3 separate regions of the Homo sapiens genome follow, and all the other regions are linked to region 1. Evidence: promoter capture Hi-C in human tissues and cell types (Jung and others, 2019). All regions are on one chromosome and are shown on one strand. The core of a region is centred on a gene start or on the middle of the fragment in contact, and the rest is flanking DNA. Distances in the headings are between cores, read along the strand shown. Region 1 holds the start of ZER1 (zyg-11 related cell cycle regulator). Region 2 has its middle 22 kb from the start of PTGES. Region 3 holds the start of USP20 (ubiquitin specific peptidase 20).

What was found. The method cuts DNA at HindIII sites, captures the fragments that hold promoters and counts their contacts. A contact is called where the count stands out against the background at its distance.
Region 2: a contact is called between a fragment that was not itself captured here and the fragment with the promoter of ZER1 in region 1, in 1 of the 25 tissues and cell types used here (dorsolateral prefrontal cortex).
Region 3: a contact is called between the fragment with the promoter of USP20 here and the fragment with the promoter of ZER1 in region 1, in 1 of the 25 tissues and cell types used here (dorsolateral prefrontal cortex).

The regions. Positions count from the first base shown.
Region 1 is chr9:128,770,494-128,773,193 of GRCh38, forward strand. ZER1 (zyg-11 related cell cycle regulator) reads right to left here and starts at 1,434. Exons shown (of 16, transcript NM_006336.4): 1 at 1,088-1,434. It overlaps LOC124902282 (a long non-coding RNA gene), which reads left to right and starts at 841. Exons shown (of 2, transcript XR_007061804.1): 1 at 841-1,055. RefSeq lists enhancers at 1,021-1,070, 1,799-2,525 and a silencer at 1,261-1,730. The HindIII fragment of the contact is 13,726 bases long and covers 1-2,700 here.
Region 2 is chr9:129,774,176-129,776,875 of GRCh38, forward strand. No RefSeq gene overlaps it. Among named protein-coding and RNA genes, the nearest start is that of PTGES, 22 kb to the left of the region's middle. RefSeq lists an enhancer at 891-1,457. The HindIII fragment of the contact is 4,926 bases long and covers 1-2,700 here.
Region 3 is chr9:129,834,064-129,836,884 of GRCh38, forward strand. It overlaps USP20 (ubiquitin specific peptidase 20), which reads left to right and starts at 1,395. Exons shown (of 26, transcript NM_001110303.4): 1 at 1,395-1,436. C9orf78 (chromosome 9 open reading frame 78) reads right to left here and starts at 1,212. Exons shown (of 9, transcript NM_016520.3): 1 at 1,076-1,212; 2 at 644-703. The coding sequence starts at 1,158. RefSeq lists silencers at 1,144-1,493, 1,524-1,673 and an enhancer at 1,645-2,145. The HindIII fragment of the contact is 7,728 bases long and covers 1-1,576 here.

The sequences.
Region 1 (2,700 bases), core at 184-2,683:
GAACTACCTGGCTTGCTCCCTCACTTATCTCTGCTCAAAGGTCACCTTACTAGAGACCTTCCCTGAACACCCTCTATAAAATGACAACTCCCAACTCCTTCCCCATGGTCCTTCCTTCTCTATTTTTCTCCAAACCACTTATTACCTCCTTACATATCATGTTTATTATTTGCTGAATGAACAAATGAACCAAAGTAGCGAGGCCCTTCACCCCTGGCCACCACTTTCTGCTCTAAGTATAGCCTCCCGTGACCCTTTTCAAGGCTATGCTTTTATGCTCATCCTAACCAGTTTGAAGTCTGAAGAGAAACATTCTGTGAAAGATCATATATGGAAGGATTTTCCCAAGACATCAGACATTCCATTCCCCTCCCCCTTAAAAATCAAATGCACTAGCTGAGCGCGGTGGCTCATGCCTGTATTTCCAGCACTTTTGGAGGCTGGAGCGGGCGGATCACTTGAGCCCAGGAGTTCGAGACCAGCTTGGGTAACATAGTGAGACCCCATCTCTATTTAAAGAAAAACAAAACAAAACAAAACGAATGGACTGACAAACACAGGCAAAGACTGGAAATCTTGGGCTCTTTCGGTCAAAGAGCAGCCAAGACAAGTTCCACCCAGAGAGCTATAGTGGCCAGCACAGTCAGTTTCACTATCAACTCACCTGTCGGGCTCCCTTGGCCCTCCGGTTGCAACCTCACCCTGTTGGATTTCCCTATACTTTGTGTCATCCCTTTTGGGAGCTGATCCAGAATCCAAGTCGTCCTTGAGCTTCTAAGCACTTCTCTGGGGGAACTTAAGCTCATCCAACAGGTAGGAGGGGCAGAGGGTGGCCCTTTCAGCCCTACACCGATCCCCCATCTTGTAGGGGCAAACGACAGAGCGTCATTTTCTTTCTGGAGGAAGGGAGCTCAGTTTTAAAGACACGATTCTCAGACCTGGCGGCAGGGATAGAGAAAGGAACCCTCCCACCACTGGCGGAGATGGACCTCAGAGAGTGGTTGCAGCGGCGATGCTTAGGCCCCGTAGGCAGGAGGCGAAGGAGGAGGACGCAGGTACGTCCCTTGGCCCGGGGTCCGGGACCTACCCTGGACGGGGCTGCCCTCAGCGTCGGGAAGCGGACGTGATGCTTCGCAGGCGAGGAGGAGCAGAGAATGCAGCCCGGGAGAATCCGGGGCCAGAGCACCTCAGGAGGTTGGGGATCTCGTCAGGCTAGAGCCGGGGTCCAGGGGAGACGGGGGTCGGCGGGGCGGAGCTTGGGATCCCGGGGACGGGAGCTCCGGGAGGGAGGGGGTCGCGACGGGGACCCCGTGGCGGTTACCTTGCCCTTAGGGCTGCCGGCGGGGCTGAGGCTCCTGGGCCCGGCCCCTCCCCCGATCCGGCTCCTACGGCTCGGAGCCTGCAGCCGCCGCCGCCTCCGCTGTCAACAAACCCGGGGCGCGTCACTTCCGGGGCCGCCCCTTAGCAACAGCGATCGGGTTCCCCCGACCCGTCCCGCGGCTAACGCGGGCGGCGGCGGCAGAAGGTTCCGGGGACCGGCGGGCGGCTCCTTTCCCCGGGCCCGGCACGTTACGCCGGTGGAGGAAGCCGCGGGATGCCCCCCCCAGGCCACCCGAGAGAACGCGTCATTCAGGGCTCTCCCTGGCCTCCGAGGGGCCTGTTCGTGGGACCCTAGGATCGGTGCCCGCCCTGGCGCTGCGGTTCACCTGAGCCCAACACTGCTGAATAGCAGGACTGACTCTGGGCGCCAGCCCCCTCCATCCAGCGCCCTGTTGAACATGTCTTGCGTTCTCCACGGGTGGCTCACACTCGCGTGTCAACCCGCAGTCATCACCGTCCCCCAAAAGGTGCTCCTAACCTCCATCTAGGGCATGCGCCACCAGGCAACCGAGCTTCCAAATGGGAAATTGGGCGGCGACCTCGGCCCCTACATTTTCCTGGGCCCCTCGTCCAGTCTCCAAGTCCTAAGGATCCTGTCAAACCAGTTCCTTCTGGCCGAGCGCAGTGGCTCACGCCTGTAATCCCAGCACTTTGGGAGGCCGAGGCACGCGGATCACCTGAGGTCAAGAGTTCGAGACCAGCCTGGCCAACATGGTGAAACGCCGTCTTTACTAAAAATACAAAAATTAGCCGAGCGTGGTGGTGCGCGCCTCTAATCCCAGCTACTCAGGAGACTGAAGCAGGAGAATCGTTTGAACCCAGGAGGCAGAGCTTGCAGTAAGCTGAGATCGCACCACTGCACTCCAGCCTGGGCGACAGAGGAAGACTCCATCTCAAAACACCATCATTTCTTCTCTGGATTTCTCTTTTTTTTTTTTTTTTTTGAGAGACGGAGTTTCTCTCTCTTGTTGCCCAGGCTGGCGGGCAATGGCCCTCAGCTCACTGCAGACTCCCCGGGTTCAAGCAATTCTCCTGCCTCAGCCTCCAAGTAGCTGGGATTACAGGCGCCTACTATCACGTCTGGCTAATTTTTGTATTTTTAGTAGAGATGGGGTTTCGCCATGTTGGGCAGGCTGGTCTCAAACTCTTGACCTCAGGTGATGCGCCCACCTCAGCCTCCCAAAGTGCTGGGATTACAGGCGTGAGCTACCACACCCTAGCTAGATGCTCCTTTCTTGAGGAACCCTTTCTTGACAGGTGCCTCAGTTCCATTCCAAGAACTAATTTTGTGGATTTCTTTTTTCTTGCATAGCACCTTTT
Region 2 (2,700 bases), core at 191-2,690, 1.0 Mb after region 1:
ATAGCCAGGCATGGTGGTGTATGTCTGTGGTCCTAGCTACTTAGGAGGCTGAGGAGGGAGGATCACTTGAGGCTGGGAGGTCGAGGCTGCAGTGAGCCATGATCATGCCACTGCACTCCAACCTAGGTGCAAGAAAGAAAGAAAAGAAAGAGAGAAAGAGAGACAGAGAGAAAGAAAGAAAGGAAGAAAAAAGAAAGAAAGAAAGAAACAAAGAAACAAACAAACAAAGAAGGAAGGAAAGAAACAAAGAAAGAAAGAAACCAACAAAGAAAGAAAGAAAGAAGGAAGGAAGGAAAGAAAGAAAGAAACAAAGAAAGAAAGAAAGAAAGAAAGAAAGAAAGAAAGAAAGAAAGGAAGGAAGGAAGGGGAGAGAGAAGGAAGGGAGGGAGGGAGGGAGGGAGGGAGGAAGGAAGAAAGGGAGGGAAGGATGGGTTTGTCTCTCAACGTAAGAACCAAAATGAAGACATGTGTGTCTACCAGGTGAGGAGAGAAGTACGGAGAAGAAAGGGGAGGGTTGGTGGGTCCCCCAGGAGCCTGGTTGGCTGGTTGGAAACCAGAGGGTGTACTGGACAAGGCCCAGAATGCGGACCTGCCTGGGCCCCAATAAGGGGTCCCTCCCCATCCACAGGTAGACGCATCGCCCCGAGGTAGACACATGTCCCCTAGGGAAGAAGCCTTCGGCTACTCCTCACGTGCAAGTCACATGCTCCTCTCCCTGCTGGCACCACCATGGCCACAGCTGATGGGCAGGGGTGAGCACCTGGCTGCAAGCAGCCAATGGCGAGGCCAGCCAGCAGCCAATGAAATCAACAGCCCGATGTGGGCCTGGGCTGAGACCCACCCCCCAGAGGAGGCTGGGCTCGTGGCCAAGGACTCGGCTGCCAGCAGCAGGAGCGGCCACAAGAATGTGTACCCCTGGGGATGACAAGAAGCCCCTACAGTGAAATCCACTTCGGCTCTTCACGGGCCCTGGGGTCTTCACCTGGGTCCTGTGCCCACGAGGTCTTGGGCCCCAGCATCCTCACAGTAAACCCCTTTATCCCGGGGTCCTCAGTGCACGTCTGGCCCAGCAACGGCAATGAAACCAACAAACTGCCACACACTAGAGCTGGGTCCTGCGGCTCTGCCACCTGCTCTGTCAAACGCTGGGGTCCCCAGAAGCCACGGCCCCTGCCAAAGGTCATTTTGGGTCTCATTTGTCATCTGGGTACTTAGGGTAAAACGATATTTTCTGTGCAAGCCCCTCATTGCTTCCCTGTCTCTCCCATCCCCTAACTCCACCACCATGAAGGCCTCCCTGCTCTCACCCACTCCAAGAGCTGGATTTTCCCTGGCACAGAGAGCATAGCACCGACCCAGACAAGCCCTTTGCCACATGCGTCCTGCCAGGCATGATTCTGGCCACAAGGATGCATCAACTGCCACTGGAGCTGTGGGTGTGTTGTCACTGTGAAGCACATTGCAGCAGCAGCTGAGAGGAGAGACCAACCAGCACCCTGGGGAGGGGGCTGCATGCAGAGGTTGGGAAGTCACACTTTGGCTTCAAGCCAAGCAGAAGATCTGGCCCAAGAAAACAGGCTCATACCTCCTGGACAGGGTGGCCAAGAGACAGAGCTTCAGCTCAGGCTGGGACGCCAGTTGGGCAATAAAATTAATGACAATAATTATTATTATATAACAATGTTGATGACATTACTGGCCAACTTTACCTGCCAGACACTATGCTTGGTGCTTTATGTAGATCAGTTCATTGCCCTCATGTAGCAATCCTAGGAGGTGGGTCTATTATTATCTCTATTTTATTTTATTTTATTTTATATTTTTTAGAGGCAGAGTCTTGCTCTGTCACCCAGGCTGGAGTGCAATGGTGTGATCTTGGCTCACTGCAACCTCTGGCTCCCAGTCTCAAGCAATTCTCCTGCCTCAGCCTCCCGAGTAGCTGGGACTTCAGGTGCGTGCCACCACACCTGGCTAATTTTTTTTGTATTTTTTAGTAGAGACAGGGTTTCACCATGTTTGCCAGGCTGGTTTTGAACTCCTGACCTCAGGTGATCCACCTGCCTTGGCCTCCCAAAGTGCTGGGATTACAGGCATGAGCTACCTCGCCCGGCCTAATATCCCCATTTTAGAGATGAGAAAATTGAGGTTCAGAGGAGTGACATGACTTAACCAATGTCTGTGCTAAACTACAGTAAGATAGATAGATAGATAGATAGATAGATAGATAGATAGATAGATAGATAGATAGATAGATACCTATGTCTAACTACCTACCTACCTACCTATTGACCTATCTACCTACCTACCAACCTGCCTATCTCTCTATCTATGTGATATATATGAAAAAGACTCTTCAGAGAACTGACTCTGCTGATGCCCAGAATAGGGTGCGGGAGACTCATCAAGCTGATCTCCCATGCTGGGCCCAGCTGGATGTTCTGACTTTACCCAGAGTATCCAGATTTCAATTAACTATCTCGGAACCACAGTAAAGGAGCGTGTGCGCTATAGTTGATTGCTCAGCCCGAGCACAGGGCTGGGTAATCTTACTCCCAGAGGGTTCTGAGGTTGGAGCCTGGAATGGACCAGCTCTCTCCCTTGCCATTCAGCCCCACCCCCACCCCTGGAGCCAGGGACTCAAGCAGCCCAGCTTGACAGTCCTGGGAGGCCTGACCCCCGGCTGGGATCTCGTCATCAGCA
Region 3 (2,821 bases), core at 145-2,644, 1.1 Mb after region 1:
AAATTTACAAAATCACCTACATGTCCCAAAATAGGGGATTTGTTAACAAATTACAATACACACATCTGGTGGAATATTATGCAGCCATTAAGGCTTTCTGAAAAATATTCCACAATATGGGTGAATGCCCACAATGTCATAATGAGTTGAAAAGAACAGGGAATAAAAGTACATAGAAAGTTGTTCACAATCTGAGAGAGAGAGACGAAAAAAAACAGATTGGAAAGAGTATTCAATATTAATACCAGTGCATTCTTGGGTGGCTCTGCAAGGAAAAAAAATGTTAACACTGATCATTTCCGGATGGGAGAATTATGGGTGCTTTTTATCGTCTTGACTATACTTTTCTAAATTATACAAACTCTTAACGATCGATATGCATTTCACAATTAATTGGTTTTAATAAAAAACGCGAGTTAGTGATCTGTTTCTGTATCTCTGGAGCACACCCCGAGACGACACAGCTCAGGGCATGTCCTGGTTAAACATTTGCAAAGAACGCTGTTCTCCAAGTTGGGCAGTGGAAGGTGTACAGTGTGTCAAGAGAAAAATCTACGTCTGAGGAGATATTTGTGACAGCGACCCGGACGCGGATGTGTCTGTCGTCCCCGCCGCCTCCTCCTCCTCCCCGCGTGGTACCCACCTCACCCCGTTGGGCCTCTTCCTCAAGTTCTGTACCTCTCTGGTCTCTTCCAGTTTTAATCTTTAAAAAGAAGAAGAAGCAGCAATGCATAAGCTGAGTGATTCCCCGCGGAATCCAAAGCTAACAGAGCCAATAAGGCACCTTCGAGGGCATCCCAGCCCAGCTACTGAGCCACCAGCACAGTGGTCCAGAGGACGACCTTGTGCCTAGACCCACCGGGAGTCAGAGCCACTGCGCATCCCGGAGGCATCTCTCTCAACCGTTCGAGCTTGGGGCGGTGGCCTCACCCCTTGAGCCTCAATTTCTGCGTCCGCAGAAGGAACCACCACCCGAGCTCACAGTTAACAATGTCAGCGAAGCGCCGAGCCGGTGGTGAGTCCCCCAAACAAGTCTATCTTTACCAAGCCTATGGGAGCCCCGCCCCAAACGCACCGAACCTCCTCTGAGTCCTGCTCATCTTCCTCTGACTCCGAGTCGCCCCGGCGGCGACGGAAAATCTTCCGGACGACCGGCATGGTGACAACGGCCGAGTTGTACAGCCGCCGCGCCTCTGCGCAGCGGCCCAGGCTGCTTCCGGCGCGCGGCAGAGCGGTCAGAGCGCCTGCCCCGTCTGGCCCCGCCCCCGGCACGCACAGTCCGCGTGGCCACGCCCCCTCTCCTGGCGTCAGCCTCTTCCGATTGGACGGCAGAGGGAAGGAGGTGGGGCGTCGCCAGACGGCCCCACAACCCTGCGCGTCGCCTCAGAGGGGGCGCGCTTGACTGACAGGCGGCGGCGGCGCAGTTGCGAGTGCAGGTGAGTTCCGGGCCGCCACCGGCTGCTTCTGTGGGCCGGGCCTCTGAGCATTGGCGACCCCAGCCCGGCTCCGGGCTGACAGGGCCTGGCTTCGCCAGGTACGCCAGACGCAGCGGCCCGGTGAGCGGAGCCCGGGACCCCCCCGGCCGCCGCCGCCCCTCTCCCCTCCTCCGGTCGGCGCCCAGGGGGGCCTCTGGGCCCCAGCACCACCCCACTCTGAGCTCCCTGGGGGCTCGTGGCTTCTCCAGAACCGGGGCCGCCCCCCTCTCATTTCTGCCGGGGCCTGACCTAGCGTTGAAAGCATCCGCGTGGCGTCTCGCGTCTCGGGCGCTGACTTTTCTTTCCTCGGGCTCTGAGCCCTGACGTGCGTTTTTTTCTTTCGGAACAAAAGATGACCACTTCTCTGCGGTGCTGACTTAGAGTCCCAGCGCCGACTGCCTCACAAATAATGGCCCCCAGCTTCTCCGCGAGGAGAGGCGCGTCTGATGTTTTGAAGCCACGCAAGAGGGTTTGAGCCGGGGGACTCCTCCTCGGTGCTTGCCGGCCACCCCCCTGGACCTTCACGGGTCTGGTTTTCCTCCTTCGGCAGGTCTGTCGCTCTACCCTCTGCCCCTTCCACCCCGAAGATGCTGTGAGGATAAAGTTTATTTGAAAAACTGGTATCAGCAAACGCTTAGGAAATACCTAAATGCATAAATAATGGCTTCTAGGACTTTTAAGAACCCCTTAAGTAACAGTAGTTTTCCTTTTCTCAGTGTCATCCCTTACTTTGAGAACTACCTCTTATTAAGCAGTTACTATGTGGCAGGCCCTGGGCAAAGCATCATCTCATTGAATTCTCCCAGCAATCCTTTGAGGTAGATTGTTTTTCGTTTTACAAATGAGAATGCGGAGTCTCCGAGGGGCAGTGCACGCCTCAAGTTACCCAGCTAGGAGGTGGAACAGGAATTGGTTGCAGGTCAGTCTCTGCCGCACGGTTTGCACAGGGCCTGGCACGGTAGGAGTGCAGTAGATGTTTGCTGCTGCTGCAGCTGCTGTTACATCTCATTGGCTAGGGGGAGGGGCCGATGGGGGCTGTCTGGGGTTCCCCTTTCTGGAAGACCATTCCGAAGCAGGGCAGCATTTCTAGAATGCCTTACGTTTTCTCTGGAACAGTCTCCACTGAGATTGTTCTTCTCTTCCTTGGGCTGGAAAAAATAGTAGACTCGGGACTTCTTGCACCAGCGTTTTATCTTTGGTCAAAAGCCATATATTAAAGTCTCAAAGTCTTGCCCTCTGCAGACTGGTTCAGCCAAACCCAGATGCACGTGCACTCACTGGATACGGAGTCCCTGTCAGATGATGGAGAGGCTCCTTGGGAATTGCTGCAGGAGTCCAGGGGGTCA